Linked DNA regions of Homo sapiens: regions 2, 3 and 4 are each linked to region 1. Evidence: promoter capture Hi-C in 16 types of primary human blood cells and fetal thymus (Javierre and others, 2016). All regions are on one chromosome and are shown on one strand. Each heading gives the region's core, a stretch centred on a gene start or on the middle of the fragment in contact. The rest is flanking DNA. Distances are from core to core; before and after follow the strand shown. Region 1 holds the start of ALDH4A1 (aldehyde dehydrogenase 4 family member A1). Region 2 overlaps UBR4 (ubiquitin protein ligase E3 component n-recognin 4). Region 3 overlaps PAX7 (paired box 7). Region 4 overlaps UBR4 (ubiquitin protein ligase E3 component n-recognin 4).

Region 1 (3,153 bases), core at 413-2,912:
AGGACGGAAGGCCACAGAAACCCTCAAACTCATTAGTTAATTAGCCATAAAATAGGGGATTTCATATCACCTGTTACATTTGTAGCTCACAATAAAAGCTTTGGAAGATGACAAAGCAGGAATCATTACACACATTTTACTGAAGGGGAAGAGAGGACATGAGACATCACAGGCTCAGTAACTGGCTTGGCCTGGTTTGGAACTGATGTCCTTTTAACCACAAAGCCCCCATTTTTCCAGGCTCTCCAACGTGCCCACAGGAGGTCACCTTCCCAGGCTCTGGATTTGACAGTAACCAATGTTCTAGTTTTTCTTGTCAATGGGCATGTTCAGGGCAACATTGCCCAAATGTGAACTGAGCCCACCTGTCTAGGGTTTTCTCCAAAGGTGAAGACAAATAGCCGCCACCAATTCCAATTTGCTTTTTGCCATTCCTAATACTTGGCATTTAGGTAATCTCCCTCTCCTACTCTTCATTTAAATGTTTACATTCTCCCAAAGTACCTCAAATGGTGTAATCTGGAGAAAAATAAGTGGCTTAAGATCACGGGGGCTTTGTGAGTTGGGTACTATTACTTCCGTTTTACAGATGAGGAAACTGAGGCCCGGAAAGGATATGTAGTCTGCCTAGTGCCCTGCTTGAGGAACCAAAATCAGCATGGGAACTGACTCCTAAGCAGGTGCGCGGTTCATGCTGCTGGAAGAAATATAAACAAATTAGAACAGAGAGTAAGGAAACGTAACATTACTTTAGGAATAGATTGGGTCCCTGAGACCTCGTCATCAGAGAAGACTTCAGAATCCAAGTTTTAAATAGCATTCTAGTGTTTACCAAGCACACAACATTTTGCAAAGAAAGCTGAAATTTTTACTTGGGGGTAAAAGGCTCAGGAACAACTGGTTTTGCGGCCAAAGGCTTTAAATGAAAAGCTAAGCGTTGGCCAGCTCAGGTTTTATCTTGCATTGATCGTAATCTGCAAGGAAGCTAAGAAGCTGGCCGGCCCCGCGCCTGGAGGGTAGGTGGAGAGCGGCTGGGTCCTGGCCAAGAAGCTGGAAGGCAGGCTCATTCCAGGGGCCGCAGCCCCCGGGAAGAAGCAGGGGGCTGGCCGCGCTGTGGCCCTGCGGGGTCGAGGAGTCTGGTAGCGGACAGGTTTCCAGCCTTGTACAAGCCACCGGCAGCCCGAGAGAAGTCAGTCGGACTCCCATCGAACCCGGGGCGCACGCCAGAGGGCCGGACGCAGCGAGTCCTTCTGCCCCGCTTCAGCACGTGTCCCATTTCGGTTATCTCATTGGCTCTATTCAGCCCCTCTCTGCTCCGCTTTGGAAGGCTGCCGCAGGACCGCCCCGCTGATTGGTTCAGAAGCTTTGGTGTGTCACTCTGACTGGTCGACAGAGTTCACGCCCTCTCTCCCGGGTCATACCATAAAGAGAGGAGGGGAAAACGCATGCATTTCAGGACTTCGCTTTCGGGTTCCCTTGTCCTGTGTTGTGTAATGCCCCCGTTATGGCACTAGAAATATTTTTTATTAGCCGAAGCTAAATATAGTGGGACTTTGGCTGATCCCGAGCTCGGAGGACAGCCGGGGTGATCCGTTTCCCCCCGAGGATCGAGGTGGTGCGCTCTGGACGGGGTTGTGCATTCTCGCCGCGCCCGGGCGGACGATCCAGCGAACAGCCCCGCTTCTAACCCGAGATGCTGCTGCCGGCGCCCGCGCTCCGCCGCGCCCTGCTGTCCCGCCCCTGGACCGGGGCCGGGTGAGTGAGCACGGGGCCCGGGGCGGCCCGAGCGCGCGCCTGGGGCCCGGGAGCCTGAGAGTCACTGGGCGTCCCCCGCGCCGCACTCCCTCCCTGCCGGACCCCCAAGCTGCCTCGGTCAACGCCGGGTTCCTCAGGGGCTCCCCTCCGACCCCCACCCAGGCCTTTCTCCCACTGAGATCCCTTAGCCTCCTCCCTCAGGTAGTCACCTTCCTTTAGCGAGGGGACCCCTCTTCCCGAATCCTGCGACCGAGTAGGGTGCCTCGGTGGCCCTGCCGGTTCCCACGCTCGGAAAGTAGCCTCTGTAGTCACTCACCTCACTCCTAATACTGGATCTTCGCAATTTGCTGGCTTCCCCTGAGGGGCCCTTCTATTTTTAGCACACCACACATCTCACTTCCCCACCCTCGTCTCACGTTCAGTGTCCCCATCCCGCCCCGGATTCCCCGAGTCCTCTCCTTCTACCAGGATTTCTACCTCTCTCTTTTCCGCTCCCCACACACCCCGCCGCCCGTTTTTTTTTTTTTTTTTCAAGTTAAATGTTGGACAGAAAAAAGGATTCCTTTCTTCTTGTAGGTGGAATAATCATATTTATAGAGTGCTTATAATGAACCAAATGCTGGCCGGGCAATTGGCAGGTGTCTTATGAGGATTAAATGAGTTAATACATGGGGAGTGCACTGAACAGTGCCCAGCACAAAGGCAGCGCCCGGTTATTATTATTGCCACGATCATCATCATTATCACCTCTATTTAAACTTCTCACTCCTGTGAGGCAGGTCATTATTCCAAATAATGAAGAAACCCAGGAGCAGTTCAGGGGTGGACCTGCCCTTCAAATCCCGATTTGCAAACCTGACATTGTGGAGCCAGGTGCCTGGACCCTTGCCCACTCAATGACAAATATTCTCAGAGCCCCTCCAGCTCGGAGCTAGGTTTGGAGAGGTAGGTGGGACACAGACCCTGCCCCAGAGGGGTTCCTAGTCTGGTGGGGCTGCCCACCTGTGGATCAGCCCCCCCTCCCATTTGAGGTTTGTTTGCTTGACCCCTGGGGCTGTTAGTGGCAGTGTCTTTCCTGATGAGCTGTGCCCTTTCTGAGTTAATCAGTGGCCCTCTCCCTTCCCCCAAGGGATGGCATGGTGGTGCTCTGAGCACAAGTGAGTTGCAACACTGCTGTGTGTCCTCTGTGGGTGAAGAGGGGATAGGAAAGGGCGCAGGAAGAGGACATGGGACAGAGGGGTTCCTCTTCTAGGCTGAGACTGGGGCCACACTTGCCATACTCCCTGTGTGATCCCGTTTGCAGGCCTTCCCTGCACTCTGAGACTCAGGAAGATGGAGCTTATAGAGTCCTGTGTTTACTGAGTGCCTACTGTGAGCTGGTGCTCTGCCAAACACCCT
Region 2 (3,153 bases), core at 281-2,780, 250 kb before region 1:
CCTTTTAGAAAGCAAGTATAGAGTATATACTCACAGTCACAACCCTCGGTTCTAGTTAAATGGTTCCTTAGAAAAATGGATATTCTTACTCACTTGGCAAAGGACTTGTACAGGTTGGGTTTCCACCAATACCAGCAGGATTACTGTGTAGAGGACATCAAAGAGGTGGTTAATACTGGGGAGAAGGAAGCCTGACATTGAAGAGAATCTGCTCTCTTTTCCTATTTTCCCATTTTTAGAAACAAGGAAGTCATTACCAGGGAGTTAAAAGGATAAGTTTTAATGAGCTTCACATGTTGAGACAATGTCAGAGAAGAAGGAGTCCTAGTTAAAACTTAAGAACTTCTGTAGTTTCTTGATGTGTGCCTTGTCTCCCTACAGCCCGGAGGCTTCACCATTGAGATTAGTAACAACAATAGCACTATGGTGATGACAGGCATGCGGATCCAGATTGGGACTCAAGCAATAGAACGGGCCCCGTCATATATCGAGATCTTCGGCAGAACTATGCAGCTCAACCTGAGTCGCTCACGCTGGTTTGACTTCCCCTTCACCAGAGAAGAAGCCCTGCAGGCTGATAAGAAGCTGAACCTCTTCAGTGAGTCACCAACCCCTGGTGCAGACTCTGTCCTCATTGTGACTGCGAAATTGGGAGCCACTGGCCTGTGGCTGTCCAACATTCTGGGATCTCTCCACTCTGCTGATTTTTCTGTCCTTTCATCAGGAAACTTTGAGCTTCATTTGATGTATTAAAGAGGCAAGGTGACAGGAAAGGAGTACACCGGAGCATGGTAGCAGTAAAGATAGGGCTGCACTGTGTTGAGTATTCATTTCAATAGTGTTGTGTCCACCTCACTAATGGGGCTACTTCTGTGTTTAGGCCGAGAGGAGGCAGATTGACATGAAATTGCAAGGCTTTCTTAACGCACAGAGGAAGACCTCAGGTCACACATGGCTGAGAGATGGTTGGCAATGGCTTGCTATGCCACTGAAAACTAAACTCTCAGAATACAAATCCTTGAGCCTTACTCAAGACTGCATTTCTCTGTCATTTATTGGCCACTGTCTGATATTCTTTCTTCTAGATATAGTTGCTGTTAGTGTGAATGATCATGATCTGTACTTTGAACAAAGAAAGTGTGTAGAGACCCCTGGGAGTGAGGGGTAGGGGATACAATACTCTGAAGCAGAAGAGGACCCTTGCAGTGATGGTTAGGGACTCTTCTGAGTAGGAGACGTAATCGGCTTTTGGTCCATGGAACTTTTACCACATGTATTCAGCATATATACACGATTAAAGTGCTGCAAATATCTCAGAAGATAAAGTTTCTCTATGTCTATAAAATTGACGTGATTTACTTCTTTGCTCCAACTGTTCTGGTCTTTGCTTTGGAGGGGTGGCTTTTTAGAGAATGTGCTTCCTAAAGGCCTCTCTTGCTTATTGCAGTTGGGGCCTCGGTGGATCCAGCAGGTGTCACCATGATAGATGCTGTAAAAATTTATGGCAAGACTAAGGAGCAGTTTGGCTGGCCTGATGAGCCCCCAGAAGAATTCCCTTCTGCCTCTGTCAGCAACATCTGCCCTTCAAATCTGAACCAGAGCAACGGCACTGGAGATAGCGACTCAGCTGCCCCCACTACGACCAGTGGAACTGTCCTGGAGAGGTACCAGTGCTGGCAGGGGTTGGCTTCAGTTTTTACATATTCCACTCACTGCAGAACCTTCCTGTGTCTTGAGAGAGCCAGCTTCTAATAACCATCTCAAGGCTAGCCTGGAATTTTTTTAAGTTTTCATACAACTCGCCCACATTCAGTGTCTCTTTAGCGTGCAAAGCCTGAAAAATGTGCTCAGAGTCATCTGACACCAGAGTCTCTCCCTGGACAGAAGTTCTGTCCCTTCTCTTAATAATGCTCAGGTACCCTTTAGAGTAGCCAGAGGCCACAGGCTAGACGATGCTCAAGCCAGTATTCTAGATTAGGATCCAGGCTTGCTGAAATGATAGGAAAACATCCTCCCTTCCATTCTGAGCTCATCATCTTTTCATCATCTTTCTCTGCGTAGCTACTTCTGTGATAATAACATTGCCAGCAAGAGAGGCTGTCTGCTGCCTCTTGTAGCAGAGTCTAGAGTTTCCTTAAGTCTCCCTACAGTGGCATATTCTTAAGCATTGTGCTTGGCTTCTTTGTGCTAGGTAGCTGCTGGTTTGCCATGGTAGATGAAATATTATAATTCATGATGTAAGATTTTGAGTTTCTTACATTGTAAGTCACAAGAATAGCCTTGCTTGGAATCACTGCCTCCCACCACCAGCCTCCTCCCTCCCTTCCTTTCTCTTTCTTTTTCCCCGATGCCCTATCCATACATGGTTTGCTTAGGATGTGTTTCCGGGTTTCTCTGAGCTTCACATTTTTTTCCTTTTTTTTTTTTCTTTGCTTCTCCCCCAAGTTCTGAAACTGAGTCCCTAACCAAGCTGGACCGGTTAGTATGCCCTCTTTCTTTTCTCTGCACGAGTGAGTGTGTGTCAGAGAGCCGTGTAACCAATGGTGTGGCTTTGCATTGATTCTGCTTCTGTTGAAGAGTCTTCCTGCTTCTTTCTGTTCTGGTCATTGCATGGCTACAGAGCTGTCCATGTGTAAAAATGGAGTATATGGAAGATCGTAAGTGCACTCTTGGTGTTGGCCATGTCGGACACTCTCTCAACTCTCTCTTCCTTACCCTAGTCCTCTCTGCTCCCTTTCTAAGTGGATGAAAAGGGGGTTTGGGGTAGAGGGATTAACAGCAAAGTCCTACCATCTGATAACCCACTAGAGAGCTCGTTCTATCCAAATTTGTTTTATGCCTCAGTTTCCTCTTCCCTAGTTCTTTATTGCCTTCCTCTACCCCTTAACCCCTTTCTTTCCAGTTACCTTCTGAATACTTTTCTTTCTCTGTCCAGAGCTTCAGCTGTCAGGATGTTGTTCTTTTTACTATGCCACATTAAATTGAAAGGAGTAAACCCTGGGGAGCATGTTACTTGGTACCTTTAATAGTAATAGTTGGGTTTCCTATTCCTTTCCTAAGGGGAAAAGTTTTCTAAAGATGCTTTGTATTTACCCCTTGAATGTTGGCAATTGGCATGCACCTAAAAAATAGTTTGTTCTCTCCCCCATACTT
Region 3 (3,153 bases), core at 347-2,846, 240 kb after region 1:
GCCAGGCACCACACGTGGCTTTGTCCGACACTGTGAGGTGGGTGTTGTTAGCCCTATTTTACAGATGAGAACACTGAGGCTCATGGAGGTCATTTCTTGTCTGCAGTTACAGGGCGGGGCAGTGGGCTGAGTTAGCGTGCAGGCTTCCAGATAGTCCCAGAGCAAGTGCTGGGAAAGGCCAGTTCGATCCTCTCAGCCTCTGCATGCCCATCAAGGAGCTGGAGGAGGATTAAAGTCTAATCCAAGAGACGTGGACACACCAAAGGCAAGTTTGGGGTGGGAGGAGAGATCAGAAAGTTTCTGCAAAGAGGCACAGGAAATGTGAGTTTGAAAAAATAAAGACGAATTCATTTCCACCTCATGGACCCCAAAGCGGGACTCTCCCACAGCCCCTATGCCCCCTACTCCTCATGGCAACCCTTACACTGAAGGGAGGGATATCTGTTTGCCTGTCTACCCCACCAAGCAAGGGGGCCTCTGAGGGCAGGGATGGACCCACGTTGTTCTGTTTCAGCCAAGCTCTGGGTATTTATTTCTCAACAGAGATTTACTGATCATCTAACAACCACGTGTCAACTGTCTAATCCTCCATGCTTTGGCCCCCTCCCTATTCTATGCCCCCTGCTCTAGCATGCGTGTGTGCTTTTTACTTTCCCCTCTAGCACTCTGAAGCCCTTACACTCACTATTTCACTTCAGCCTTACAAAACCCTAACGAGCAAAGTAGCTTTTGCTCCATTTTACAGCCAAGAAAACCGAGGGTCAAGGGGAGGAAATAGCTCCTTATGTGCCCATTTCTCCCCTAACTCATCCTCCAGGTCCCCCACCCCCGTGAGTCCTCTCTCCCCTCCCTTTAGCCGCTGGCTCACAGGCCAGGACTGGGCCCCACCTCTGAGCCCCCTTCTGTTTTTTCACTCAGGATTCCTGAGCCCAAGGAGGCAGGCTTGTTTATAGCCCTGCCAGTCCTGGTGCCTTGGTCCCAGCTCAGGTCAGCTCTCTGGGGCTAGTAGGGGCTTTTGAACGTGGTAAATACAGGTTGCAGGGGTCAGGGGTCACAGCCCTTCCTAGGGGGAAGTTAGACTTGAATCATCCATGAAATAGTAATGCTCATCTTGGGGCGTGGAAGGGAGGCAGATTTCTTAAATTATGATGACTCCACAACAACCCTCCCTCCACCTCCCAGGCCTCAATCATCCCCCACTTTGGTTTCCCTGGAAGGACTTGGCATCTGGATTTTCCGTTTTCCTCCCTCCTAATTTTGTCCTTAAGCCAGAAAAAATAAGGTGTCTAGGGGAAGAGAAGAGCAGAAAGGAAGAGAAGAATGTGGCGTGTGTCAGAGGCCTGCTGTGTCCTGGGCAGAGTTGGGTTGGAGTGGTGTCACCTGTCTTCCACAGGTAGGGGGATGACTTGGCCAAAACCTCCCAGCCAGCAAGTGGCAGAGCCAGGATTCGAACTTGAGTTGGTCTAAGTCAAAGAGCCAAGCTCCAAATGGGAGGCCCATTTGGCCCTATCCTAGGGGCCCCTCCCCTGACAGAGGCTCCAATTTGGGAGCGTTGATAAGGAGGACACCCCAGGCTCCAGCCACTGGGCTCCAATTCTACCCACAAACGTGGACGAATTCCGACCTCCTACATCCATGCTTCCCCTCAACCACCCCACGCAAGGGGCAGATGCCGAAGGGTAAGGTCCTCGAGCACATGGCCCGCTGGGCTTTTCCCAATTCTTTTGCAGTCACTCTTCCCTTCCAACCCATTCCTTAACAAAGGTGGGAGGAGGTTGAGGCCGTTCCTTGTGACAGGTACCTGAGCCCCACGGACCTACGGGATTGATCCTTACACGCCAGGGGGTAGGGTGAGCAACAATCCCAGTCTGCCTGGGACTGAAGGCTTTTCTGGAATGTGGGACCCTCAGTGGGAAAACCAGGAAAGTCCCAGGCCAAATGGGACAGTTGCCTGCTACCAGGACTCAGAGGCAGGGTTCCCACCTCTCAGGCAAGAGCAGTTTTCCCTCCACCTGGCTACTTGCCTAAGGTCCTTTCCTTTCCACTCTCTCTTTCCCCAGGGGAAAAACCACCAGGGAAGGTGAGTACAAATGACCTCCCTGGCCCTGCTAGCAGGGAAGCTCCTTAGAAGGTGAAGGTAAATGGCATGGGTGGAATTCTCTACACCATGATCATTAGGGACACTCCCTTTTCAGGCCCCCTCAGTAGCACCCAAATTAAGACAGATGTGGGATTGGGAGAGAGGGAGGAAGAGAAGTGGAAAGGAGGGGGAGGGAAAGCCTTGCCTTCAATTCTCAGCAGAGGCCTGGCTGCCCCCTCCCCTTTCCTGCTCAGGTGTCTCAGAGAAGTTCTCAAGTTAGGGAGCATTTATTGAGCACCTGTTCTGCATATGGTATTGCACTGGCACTAAATAGGTGAGATCAAAGCAGAATAAAATGTAGTTGACTGGTCCTTGCTCTCAAAGAAGGTCCTAATCTGGTGCAGGAGCTGAAAACACAGAACAAAACTCACTAGGACAGTGAATCTGCAGTACACACACAGACACACACATACACACACATGTCACACACATGCTTATGTGCACACAGTCACATGCATGCACACAAATACATATGCACACACATATACATACAGGCATGCACACATTACACATGCATGCACACACAACACACACATACATATGTGTACACACACACATATACGTGCATGCACACACACATATGCACACACACTCTCCAGCTCAAATGAAGGAAATTTTGGAGTTTTGCATAACCCTGGCTTGTTTGAGCAAGGGTTCCCTTAGCATTGATAATGAAGAAAGGTTTCTCCCAAGGCAACTTCATGTTTATGAAATGTCAACCCCAGCCAGCTCTCCTACAACCTTGCCCAGCCACGTGTCCTTGGGGTCAGGCTTCTACCAGCAAACCTTCCTTGCAGAACACATTCTCTCTGAGCTGCCTGAGCCATAGTCAGCCGGGCAGAAGCCTGCCATAGAACTGGGGCTAAGATTTGCTTTTGGCTTTAACCCCTGTCCTGCATGCAGCAGCTGAAAATCAGGGTGAGCCCCCAAGAGTGGGCCAGGCCTAGAGTTGCATCCCAGATGATTCCCTGAGAAAGTTACTTCTCTCTTGCCTCACTTTCCCTTCCATCATG
Region 4 (3,153 bases), core at 171-2,670, 190 kb before region 1:
CTCTGCTCAGGGAGAGCCCATGAGGATTGTTTATCGTATGCGGGGGCTGCTGGGCGATGCCACAGAGGAGTTCATTGAGTCCCTGGACTCTACTACAGGTAGATCATGGCACTGCACATTGGATCTGAGGCTTGGGACTCATGAGCGGCTCACGTCCCAGGACTTAGGGGCATTCTCAGTTGCTTCTCTCTTGTACCTCTGCATCAGAATTGTGGGGAGATTGTTTCTTCAATTGAGGAAAAAAAGAGGTGTCTGTGGCATGATGCAGATACCACTGAGTGTTCAAAAAAAAAAAAAAGAATACCAGCAAACTTTTAGAGGAAAATGCAATGAACAGTAAACTGGAGTTCAGATTTATTTTTAACTCCCTCTCCCCCCACTCCATTGATGGTATTGGTGCTCATACTTTGACATTTGAGTAAGTAATTTTAATTGACTTGAAACTTTAAAAAAGCTCCTACTGAGAGTGGGACAGTTTAATATCATCCATCATTGACCCCTTTTATTGGCCGTGTCTTTATTGGAGATACGGAAAAGGGCTGTCAGCCATCAGCCAGGAATAGGGCTGTCTTATCCTGGCCTATTTTATTCCCATCTTCACCTTACCCTCCATTTCTGCTTGGCTTCCCTTCTCCCCTAGATGAAGAAGAAGATGAAGAAGAAGTGTATAAAATGGCTGGTGTGATGGCCCAGTGTGGGGGCCTGGAATGCATGCTTAACAGACTCGCAGGGATCAGAGATTTCAAGCAGGGACGCCACCTTCTAACAGTGAGTTGGGGGCAGCAAGTTGTGGGGGCCAGCCTTTCTGCACTGGGAGAGGCCCCTGTGGAAAGAAGCTATGGCCACTGTGTCATTTTACCCTAGAGGGCAGCATGGTGCCGTGGAGCAGTGCGAGCCAGTGAAGGACCTGGCAGTTAGGACTACATTCTTAGGCACACCTTTTCCCGTCCTGCTGGCCCACTTCCCTTCTCCAATACCTCTCTATAGAGCCAGCATCTGACTGTCTTTCCCCAAATAGCTGCACTTGTGTTAACTATTATCATTGTTGTTGTTTTTAAAATGGATTTTGTAATGTAACTCATTTCTTGCATTGTAGGGTTTTGTTTGGGTATTCATCCAACTAATCTCCTTAGTGAGGATTAGAGCATTCCAGAGAGGCACCACAAATACTACACTGTTATTTTCACTACTCCCCACCCCCACTCCCCCAGGGTTTATGAGAATATGTATTATTGTTATTATTGTGCCTTTGTTTTAAATGACCTATGTGGTTCTGAGCTCTCACAGGCCACGAGCTTTGGGATCATTTTCTTTACTATTAGTTTAGGGTCTGAGTTGATGCTGGGATTTCCCCCAAGACAACAAACAGAGCATCACCTCTTCCATTAGGAACTGCTGTCATTGCCGTTGTATTAGAGATGGTAGAGATATATCCCGCCATTGGAGCTACCAGCCTAATGTGAGAGCCCAGCCATCTCACCATGTCCCCTGAAGAGCCGCTTCTCCCTCCTGTCCTCTTCATTTCAGGAGGAGCCCCTGCTGATGGTGTAGACCCTGCTTAGACATCCCTTTCCTACTGGCCCCCATGTCCTACACTCTCATGTGGCCTCATGGGTTTTGACTGGCTTTTCTTGTCAGGTGCTACTGAAATTGTTCAGTTACTGCGTGAAGGTGAAAGTCAACCGGCAGCAACTGGTCAAACTGGAAATGAACACCTTGAACGTCATGCTGGGGACCCTAAACCTGGTAAGGAGCATGGACTGCAGGTGAAGAAGAGTGGGCCTTGGAAGTCTGGGTGTGAAAGACCTCTCAGTTCTGGGCTCAGATGAAATGGACTCACGGCTTCTTCAAGCCCTTCATCTCTCTGGCTGACTGGTGCAGAGGCTTGGGTCATTCAGCTGCCCTTCTCCTCTGGCTGGCTCACCTCCTGCCCCCATGCTGCTGCCATGGCACTCAAGAGCTTCCTTGCTCCTTTCCTGAGTTCAGATCAGAGATAAGAGGAAGGCAGTCCCTTAAACAGTCTAGACTACACACCAGTGGGAAAGAAGTGCCCCTCTCCTTGGGGCAGCAAAGCTGCCTGTCATCAAAAGCTCACACGCTTGTCTCCCTCTCAGAACATGCATATACACGCACATACATACACACGGTCATACACACATGGTCTCTGGGGAGTAAGGCTGTGAGGGCATCCTTGAGAGCAATTGTCCTCAGCAGTTAGTGGCTGTGGTCTTATTCTGAGAGTGACTGAGTCTCCTTCTCCTACAGGCCCTTGTAGCTGAACAAGAAAGCAAGGACAGTGGGGGTGCAGCTGTGGCTGAGCAGGTGCTTAGCATCATGGAGATCATTCTAGATGAGTCCAATGCTGAGCCCCTGAGTGAGGACAAGGTGAGTGGGGCTCGGCCCCTCCATCTGCAGGCACTGAGAGCCTGCACTGTCTCATTGCCCACAACAGGCCTGTTTGTGTCTGGCTTAGCCCACCTGAGAATGGCGGAGCCTGCTTAAGCATTGGAATGTTAGGACTCAACTAATGATGACATAATTGTATCGAAATGTGAAATCTTTGGATTCAGAGCAAGCACAATTGCTAAGGATAGTCTTTCACTCAAAAGCTGCTCGTTAATGGAATCCTGGCATGTCTCAGTTGATAGACAGAGGCTTTAGTCCAACCTTTCATTTCATAGTTGAGGAATTGAATAGCCCACTTCATTTCCCTGGACTTGGCATTTCCTCAGCTGTGGTACATAGTTGGTTACTGGTGGAATCAGGCCTAGAACCCAGATCTCCAACTCCCAGAATTTCTCTCCACCTGCTATGCCTGTAATTTCCTCCATTCTTATTGGTGCTAATGATTTGGCTAGAGCTATGACCAAGTGAATGTCCAGCAGCCTGCATTCTTTTACAGGGAGGGAAGATTGTATTGGTATATTTTGACCACCTGAGACAATTAACAGCACTGTCACAGAAATTTAGAAACGAATTTCTCAAGTGAAACTCCGACTGTTTGTTATTCCCCAAGAAGTGCCGAGACATAGTTCTTCTAGGGGTATTCCTGATGACTCTGATGGAAGTGGTGACTTTTGGGGCTCAGATGTTGGCTGCAGCCACAGTCCTGACTGCATTAATGGCATGTTCACCCTCTTTTCTGTTGCAGGG

The links. The method cuts DNA at HindIII sites, captures the fragments that hold promoters and counts their contacts. A CHiCAGO score of 5 or more calls a contact.
Region 2: a contact is called between a fragment that was not itself captured here and the fragment with the promoter of ALDH4A1 in region 1, in 2 of 17 cell types (fetal thymus and activated CD4 T cells). The highest score is 7.1, in fetal thymus.
Region 3: a contact is called between a fragment that was not itself captured here and the fragment with the promoter of ALDH4A1 in region 1, in 1 of 17 cell types (fetal thymus). The highest score is 6.9, in fetal thymus.
Region 4: a contact is called between a fragment that was not itself captured here and the fragment with the promoter of ALDH4A1 in region 1, in 16 of 17 cell types (endothelial precursors, naive CD4 T cells, fetal thymus and 13 more). The highest score is 17.2, in endothelial precursors.

The regions. Positions count from the first base shown.
Region 1 is chr1:18,901,064-18,904,216 of GRCh38, reverse strand. ALDH4A1 (aldehyde dehydrogenase 4 family member A1) reads left to right here and starts at 1,662. Exons shown (of 15, transcript NM_003748.4): 1 at 1,662-1,755. The coding sequence starts at 1,694. LOC124903866 (a long non-coding RNA gene) reads right to left here and starts at 2,104. Exons shown (of 2, transcript XR_007065519.1): 1 at 1,965-2,104; 2 at 846-1,407. RefSeq lists enhancers at 609-1,426, 1,366-1,595 and a silencer at 1,676-1,895. The HindIII fragment of the contact is 9,883 bases long and covers 1,366-3,153 here.
Region 2 is chr1:19,149,088-19,152,240 of GRCh38, reverse strand. It overlaps UBR4 (ubiquitin protein ligase E3 component n-recognin 4), which reads left to right. Exons shown (of 106, transcript NM_020765.3): 48 at 382-598; 49 at 1,448-1,664. Among named protein-coding and RNA genes, the nearest start is that of UBR4, 60 kb to the left of the region's middle. The HindIII fragment of the contact is 4,359 bases long and covers 1-3,153 here.
Region 3 is chr1:18,658,505-18,661,657 of GRCh38, reverse strand. The region is part of intron 4 of PAX7 (paired box 7); the gene reads right to left. Among named protein-coding and RNA genes, the nearest start is that of PAX7, 29 kb to the right of the region's middle. The HindIII fragment of the contact is 3,395 bases long and covers 1-3,153 here.
Region 4 is chr1:19,094,138-19,097,290 of GRCh38, reverse strand. UBR4 (ubiquitin protein ligase E3 component n-recognin 4) reads left to right here. Exons shown (of 106, transcript NM_020765.3): 91 at 11-98; 92 at 641-768; 93 at 1,639-1,746; 94 at 2,266-2,385; 95 at 3,152-3,153. Among named protein-coding and RNA genes, the nearest start is that of UBR4, 110 kb to the left of the region's middle. The HindIII fragment of the contact is 5,286 bases long and covers 1-3,153 here.